2 separate regions of the Homo sapiens genome follow, and region 2 is linked to region 1. The links are contacts of gene promoters, found by promoter capture Hi-C in human tissues and cell types (Jung and others, 2019). All regions are on one chromosome and are shown on one strand. Each heading gives the region's core, a stretch centred on a gene start or on the middle of the fragment in contact. The rest is flanking DNA. Distances are from core to core; before and after follow the strand shown.

Region 1 (3,157 bases), core at 374-2,873:
TTGTCATCTGCCTCCCATGATTACCAGCATCGGGATGGCAGGGACATTGTGTCATTTAACACTATTTACCCAAGTGCCAGGCATAAGGCTGGCACACAGTAGGCATTTTAAAATGCTTGTTGGCCAGACACGATGGCTCACACCTATAATCCCAGCACTTTGGGAGGCCAAAGCGGAAGGACTGCTTGAGGCTAGGAGTTCAAGATCAGCCTTGGTAACATAGCGAGGCCTCGTCTCTATAAAATTAAGAAAAAAAAGTTTGTTGAATAAATAAATAGTGTTCAGTCCTTTAAAAACATTCCACTGTGATTTTGGTTGGGGTTGCAGGCTAAGGGGAGGTTATGAAGCATCTTCAAAGCTAGGAAAAACATAAGTTAAAAAAAAAGAAAAGAAAAAGAAAAAGAACAGTGAATTCCTGGCAGACAGTGAGCAAAGCAGTAACATGAAGTAAATGGTGACAGGGTTGGATTGGGGGAAGATCCTGTAATTTGGAAGGCTATGATTTCTCCCCCTTAACTAGTCAGAAAACAAACAATGGCAAGTGAAGTAAATTGACGCTGAAAGTCAACATTTGCTATTATAAAATAAGAACTTCTTGAAGACAACCGTGAATCCATCCTGCTCTTTCAGTAGCATTTCTCTTCTTTCCTCTCTTACCTTGGTGTCTTGGGGTTGGAGTATAAATACTTGCAACCTCTTCGGAGTCGTTAATCTCTAGACGCTCATCATATGTCTGGTTTTCAACAACCTTGGTCTAAGCAAAGGGAGACATAATTCATAGCTCCTATCATGAGACATAAAGCACTCTGCCAGGAGGTATATTCCAAACCAGCATTGGCTCCTCTTCCTTACTCAAGAAACCAGTTTTTCACAAAACCATCACCCCATCCAAACTTTCCTTCAGGCTTCCTGGCCCTCGGTCAAGCAGTTAAGTCATTCTGTTGCAGCCCTTATTTAGGAACTGCTGGCAGGCTGGCTGAGGAACCAGGGAATCGTGGAGGGAAAGAGAGCCAACTTCTGCAGCTTCCCAAAGCTGTACGACCACGCGCAAGGGCAGAACACTATTTGTATGTAGATGGCCAAGGCTGTTGAGGTTTCTCAGGGAAGGCTGTAGAGGTTCTAGAAAGAGTTCTGTCTCTGGAGTCACCTCTGGGGTGGGGTGGGGTGGGGTGGGGTGGGGTGGGGTGGGGTGGGCTGAGGCGGGGTAGGGTGGGAGGGTCCCCGAAGAGAGGGGAAACTCCAGTCTCTCAGTCCCATCCGATAATCCCAAAATCATCACCTCCACTTTCACCCTTATCTTGCAGATAGGATCCCACCTAAGTTTCTTGGGGGAATAAAGGAAGCAGGACGGTTGGTGGTGAGGTGACGAAGGAACAGTTACCACGGAGATTGGAAGAGGTAACCGGGAATGGGGTAAAGGGGAGTCCTCTTAAGCCTCTCTAGAAAGACAGTTCCCTTTTTGCTGGGATGAGTACTAATTACCTGTAGCCCTTCTGAATCCGTCTCCTCTATAATGGAAAGAACCCCAGCCTAGGGCTGGGGTCTCACTCCAGTCTCAAAGCCAGGCCACTTTAGGATTCCACGCCAAGCAACCAGCCTGTTGTCAGTCGCTAGGCAAAAAGATAAATTTTAAAATTCGCGAGAGTTGCTTCCACTCTCGTGAGACCTCCTGCGCGTTAAGCCTCACCCGCGAAGGCTCTCCACGCAGGAAGAAGATCAAGGAGTCACGGATAAAGCCTCTCTGGGCGGCCAAGTCGCCTGTTTGTCTATGGTTTCAGTAAATACGTCTGTTGCGGCATCTAGCGGCTATGGGTGGCAACGCGGCTGATAAATTTCGGGCTGGTGTAGAGTTAGCCCTTCAATCTGGAAACAAGGTGTGCGTTTGTTCCCCTAGGACAACAATCTCTGGGGATGCAGTTGCTCCCAGATCAGTCTTACCAGGATGTAGACACATTCCAGGGGAAATTTCGCAGCACTCTGTAAGTCCTTTTCTAGCACTATATTACACTATAGTCTTTCCCCTCCACAGGGTGCCATGGAATGGAACATACTTATAGCAATAAATTATTCCTTGGGTATCTGAGGTTCAAATTTAACTCTGTGGGCCGGGCGCGGTGGCTCACGCCTGTAATCCCAGCACTTTGGGAGGCCAAGGCGGGCGGATCACGAGGTCAGGAGATCGAGACCATCCTGGCTAACACGGTGAAACCCCGTCTCTACTAAAAAATTCAAAAAATTAGCCGGGCGTGGTGGCGGACGCCTGTAGTCCCAGCTACTCGAGAGGCTGAGGCAGGAGAATGGCATGAACCCAGGAGGCGGAGCTTGCAGGGAGCCGAGATCGCACCACTGCACTCCAGCCTGGGCAACAAAGCGAGACTCCGTCTCAAAAAAAATTTTTTTTCACTCTGTGTCCTGTCTTTCTTATTTGCTAAAGTAGACTTTTAACTTATTTAAAGCAAGACCTGTGTCTAATTAATTTTTAAGCTTTGTAACACCAGTGTATTGCAGAAATTAGACACTAACAATGCTCATTGGGTGGATGAATCGAGGAATGAGTGAATGGAGATGTAAGGAACAAATATTTTCAAACTGTGGACATAATTAATTTGGGAAGTCAGGGAGAGAGAAACATAAAATATTGGAGGCCAGGTGCGGTGGCTCACACCTGTAATCCCAGCACTTCAGGAGGTAGAGGTGGGACGATTGCTTGAGTTCAGGAGTTTGAGACCAGCTAGAGCAACATAGCAAGAACCGCCCCCCTCCACTCTATTAAAAATAAAAAAAAAATTTTTTTTAATTAGCCAGGTGTGGTGGCACGCACCTATAGTGCTAGCCACTCGGGAGGCTGAGGCGGGGGGATTGCTTGAGCCAGGGAGGCAGAGGTTGCAGTGAACCGAGATTGGGCCACTGCATTCACTCCAGCCTGGGCAACAGATCAAGACCCCATCTCAAATATAAATAATGAATAATAACAATAATAATTTTTTGGTCGGGCACGGTGGCTCACGCCTGTAATCCCAGCACTTTGGGAGGCCAAGGTGGGTGGATCACAAGGTCAGGAGTTCAAGACCAGCCTGACCAACATGGTGAAACCCCCGTCTCTACTAAAAATACAAAAATTAGCTAGGCATGGTGGCGCGCGCCTGTAATCCCAGCC
Region 2 (3,515 bases), core at 801-3,300, 280 kb after region 1:
AGATATAGTTCTGGAAGGATACATGGTAAACTCAACTCTAACAAGTGTGTATATGACAGGAATGAAATAACTCTACTTTTTAGTTTGTTTTAAAAGTATTTTAATTTGCAAGCATCACTTCTATAATGTGAAACAAAAATTAAAAACCTCAAACCGTTGCTCTTCTTGGAGTCACTTGAATTGGTAGCCCTGAAGAAAATTCCTAAATTAGACTTTCTTCTGTTCTTGACTGAACGAGGATGAATGAGTCACCCAATCCTGTGCCAGGTACAGGAATAAATGCTGGACAGTTACAGATGAAAGAGAGCATGTTGCCCTTTAAGGACTTCAAAGTTTACAGAGAGACCAGAAAACAAGAAATTAAAGTACAGTATGATATATGCCACAGAGCTATACCTTGGAAAGAAAAAGGATGGACAGCACAGACTTTAAAGCAGTAACAGGAGGTGGGTAGGAAAGCCTTCCAGAGAAGGTAAGAATCGAGAGGAGTCTTTTATTTTCCCTGTTACTTTATTATTAAAAAATGTCAAACATAACTGAAAGGTTGAAACATCTGCAGATCCACCACCTAGATTCAACGATTGAACATTTTGTTGTATTCACTAGATATGTAATACAAATAAACAAATGCAAAGCCATTTGAAGTTTCACCCCTAAATATTTAAACCCCAACTCCTAAGAATGACATTATCTTACATAACCACAATGCCGTTATCAAACATAAAAATAACATTAAGGGCTGGGCATGGTGGCTCACGCCTGTAATCCCAGCATGGTGACTCAGGCCTATAATCCCAGCACTTTGGGAGGCTGAGGCAGTGGATCACCAGGTCAGGAGTTCGAGACCAGCCTGGCCAACACGGTGAAACTCCATCTCTACTAAAAATACAAAAAATTAGCCAGGTGTGGTGGCAGGCGCCTGTAATCCCAGATACTCGGGAGGCTGAGGCAGGAGAATCGCTTGAACCTGGGAGGTGGAGGTTGCAGTGAGCCAAGACTATGCCACTGCACTCCAGCATGGGAGACACAGCGAGACTCTGTCTCAAAAAAAAAAAAAGGCAAAAATGAACCCCCCCGATTAGCTGGGACAACAGGCATGCCCCAAAACACCCAGCTAATTTTTGTTTTTTAAGTAAAAATGAGGTTTCACCAAATTGGCCAGGCTGGTCTCAAACTTCTGACCTCGTGATCCACCCGCCTCAGCCTCCCAAAGTGCTGGGATTACAGGCGTGGGCCACCACACCTAGCCACAAGTATTATTCTCTAAATGTCATTGTGGTTAGATGTGGTGACAGAAGTGTTAGTGAGCTCTAGCTTGTCCTTGCTTTGCTCTGATCAGTGTCCAGAAATGCTTTCCAATTCCTGACCCTGTTGACCACCAGTGACCACCAGACACTTGGTGATGGATCCACAGAGGTGGCGGCTGCCCAGATGGCTCTCCAGGAGCCTTCTCATCACAGCCCCATGTCAGTGGCCAGATGCACTTCCCTCCCCACATTGGTGACTCCTCTTTTGATTCTCTGACTAACCTCTTGGTCTTTCCTTTCCCCAGCTTCTTCTACAATTGTGTAAAGCATAGTTCCCATAATAAATTCCTTATCTCATCATTCATGAAGGTTCTACCTCCCTGACTGATACACTTACTGGTACTGGCCGTGGTTTCAGGGGACAGATCATTAAGGATAGGAATTGGAAACTGGTTCTCTGACCTGATTAAACTTAAGTGCATTCATGATTGTTGCCAGCAGTAAACTTAAATTCTTAAACTCTACCTGTAATCACTTGTGATACATGCTTATAGACGGCAAAGCTTTGGGTAGCCAAATATTTGCTGCTGTAGAACATTTTAGTAGAAATAGGAATGTAATGAGGAATGTTGGTTGCTTCTACATATGGGGAAAGTTTGGAGAAAGAAAATGATGAGCTAAAGGCTTTAAATTTCCATCTCAAGTTCTGGAAAATGGACCAAAAAACTTGAAGACTGCCTTTAAAAAAAACTCTCATCTCTGATAGCCTCAAGGTCAAGATTTCTGATCACCAAACACTAAGTGTCCACTTGCAGCAGACTGAATTTCAACGCAAAGTGAATTCATAACCTACCAGGGTGTCTTATGTTCAAAATAAGACATTGATTGGAAAGGAGTAAGACCCTGAGTCTTAGGATACAGACATACGGATGGATTCCTATGAGGTCAAAGACCTTAAACCAAGCTTGACCAACCTGTGGCCCTGCAGGCTGCATGTGGCCCAGGATGGCTTTGAATGTGCCCAACACAAATTCATAAACTTTCTTTTTTTTTTTTTTTTTTTTGGACAGAGTCTCCCTCTGTCACCCAGGCTGGAGTGCAGTGGCACGATCTTGGCTCACTGCAACCTCTGCTTCTTAGGTGCAAGTGATTTTCCTGCCTCAGCCTCCTGAGTAGATGGGATTACAGGCACGCACCACCACACCCAGCTATTTTTTTTGTATTTTTAGTAGATATGGGGTTTCACCATGTTGGCCAGGCTGATCTCGAACTCCTGACCTCAGGTGATCACCCGCCTCAACCTCCCAAAGTCCTGGGATTATAGGCTTGAGCCACCACACTCGGCCATAAACTTTCATTATGAGCTTTGGCCAGGCGCAGTGGGTCACACCTGTAATCACAGCACTTTGGGAGGCCGAGGCGGGTGGATCACCTAAGGTCAGGAGTTCGAGACTAGCCTGGCCAACATGGTGAAACCCTCTCTCCACTAAAAATACAAAAATTAGCCAGGCGTGGTGGCGGTCGCCTGTGATCCCAGCTACTTGGGAGGCTGAGGCAGGAGAATCGCTTGAACCCGGGAGGCTGAGGTTGCAGTGAGCCAAGACAGCACCACTGCATTCCAGCCTGGGCAACAAGAGTAAAACTGTGCCTCAAAAGAAAAAACAAAAACAAAAAACAAAAACCACAACAACAACAATAAAAAACATTATGAGGTTTTTTGTGATCTTTTTCTTTCTTTTTCTTTTTCTTTTTTTTTTTTTAGCTCATCAGCTATTGTTAGTGTATTTTAAGTGTGGCCCAAGACAATTCTTTCAATGTGCCCCAGGGAAGCCAAAAGATTGGACACCCCTGCCTTAAACCCTAAATTCAGCTAACCCTCCTTAGCCAAAAAAAAGTGACCTTCTTCTCTATCTGCAGTTAATCTTCCCTTACCTAAAGAACCTGGGATGACCTCCCCAGAGCTAGTGGCCTTTCAGGGGACTGTGATCCTCCTAGGAACCTAACCCTTCCACCTCTTTTAGATCTGTAAGCTCAGAGATTCAAGTCATAGCAGGCCCCAGGGTGACTCATGAGGAAATACCATACAAACCAAAAGAATATTGAGAGTTTGTCAATGTATACATTGCTTCATGTTTTTTTTTTGACATAGTTTCATATTTACAGCAAAGTTATAAGAATAGTACAAACAATTCCTTTTATATTTTACCAAGATCCTCAAATGCTGATTTATACTGACTGAAACTCAGGGAATAGGTAGGGGAATAGATC

Evidence for each region. Contacts are between HindIII fragments. The study calls those that stand out against the background at their distance.
Region 2: a fragment that was not itself captured here is called in contact with the fragment with the promoter of IFT46 in region 1 in 1 of the 25 tissues and cell types used here (spleen).

Annotation. Positions count from the first base shown.
Region 1 is chr11:118,564,308-118,567,464 of GRCh38, forward strand. It overlaps IFT46 (intraflagellar transport 46), which reads right to left and starts at 1,624. Exons shown (of 12, transcript NM_001168618.2): 1 at 1,483-1,624; 2 at 658-754. LOC124902764 (a long non-coding RNA gene) reads left to right here and starts at 754. Exons shown (of 4, transcript XR_007062907.1): 1 at 754-1,067; 2 at 1,305-1,398; 3 at 1,895-1,979. RefSeq lists an enhancer at 1,667-1,896. The HindIII fragment of the contact is 14,646 bases long and covers 1-3,157 here.
Region 2 is chr11:118,842,291-118,845,805 of GRCh38, forward strand. No RefSeq gene overlaps it. Among named protein-coding and RNA genes, the nearest start is that of CXCR5, 40 kb to the right of the region's middle. The HindIII fragment of the contact is 5,445 bases long and covers 1-3,515 here.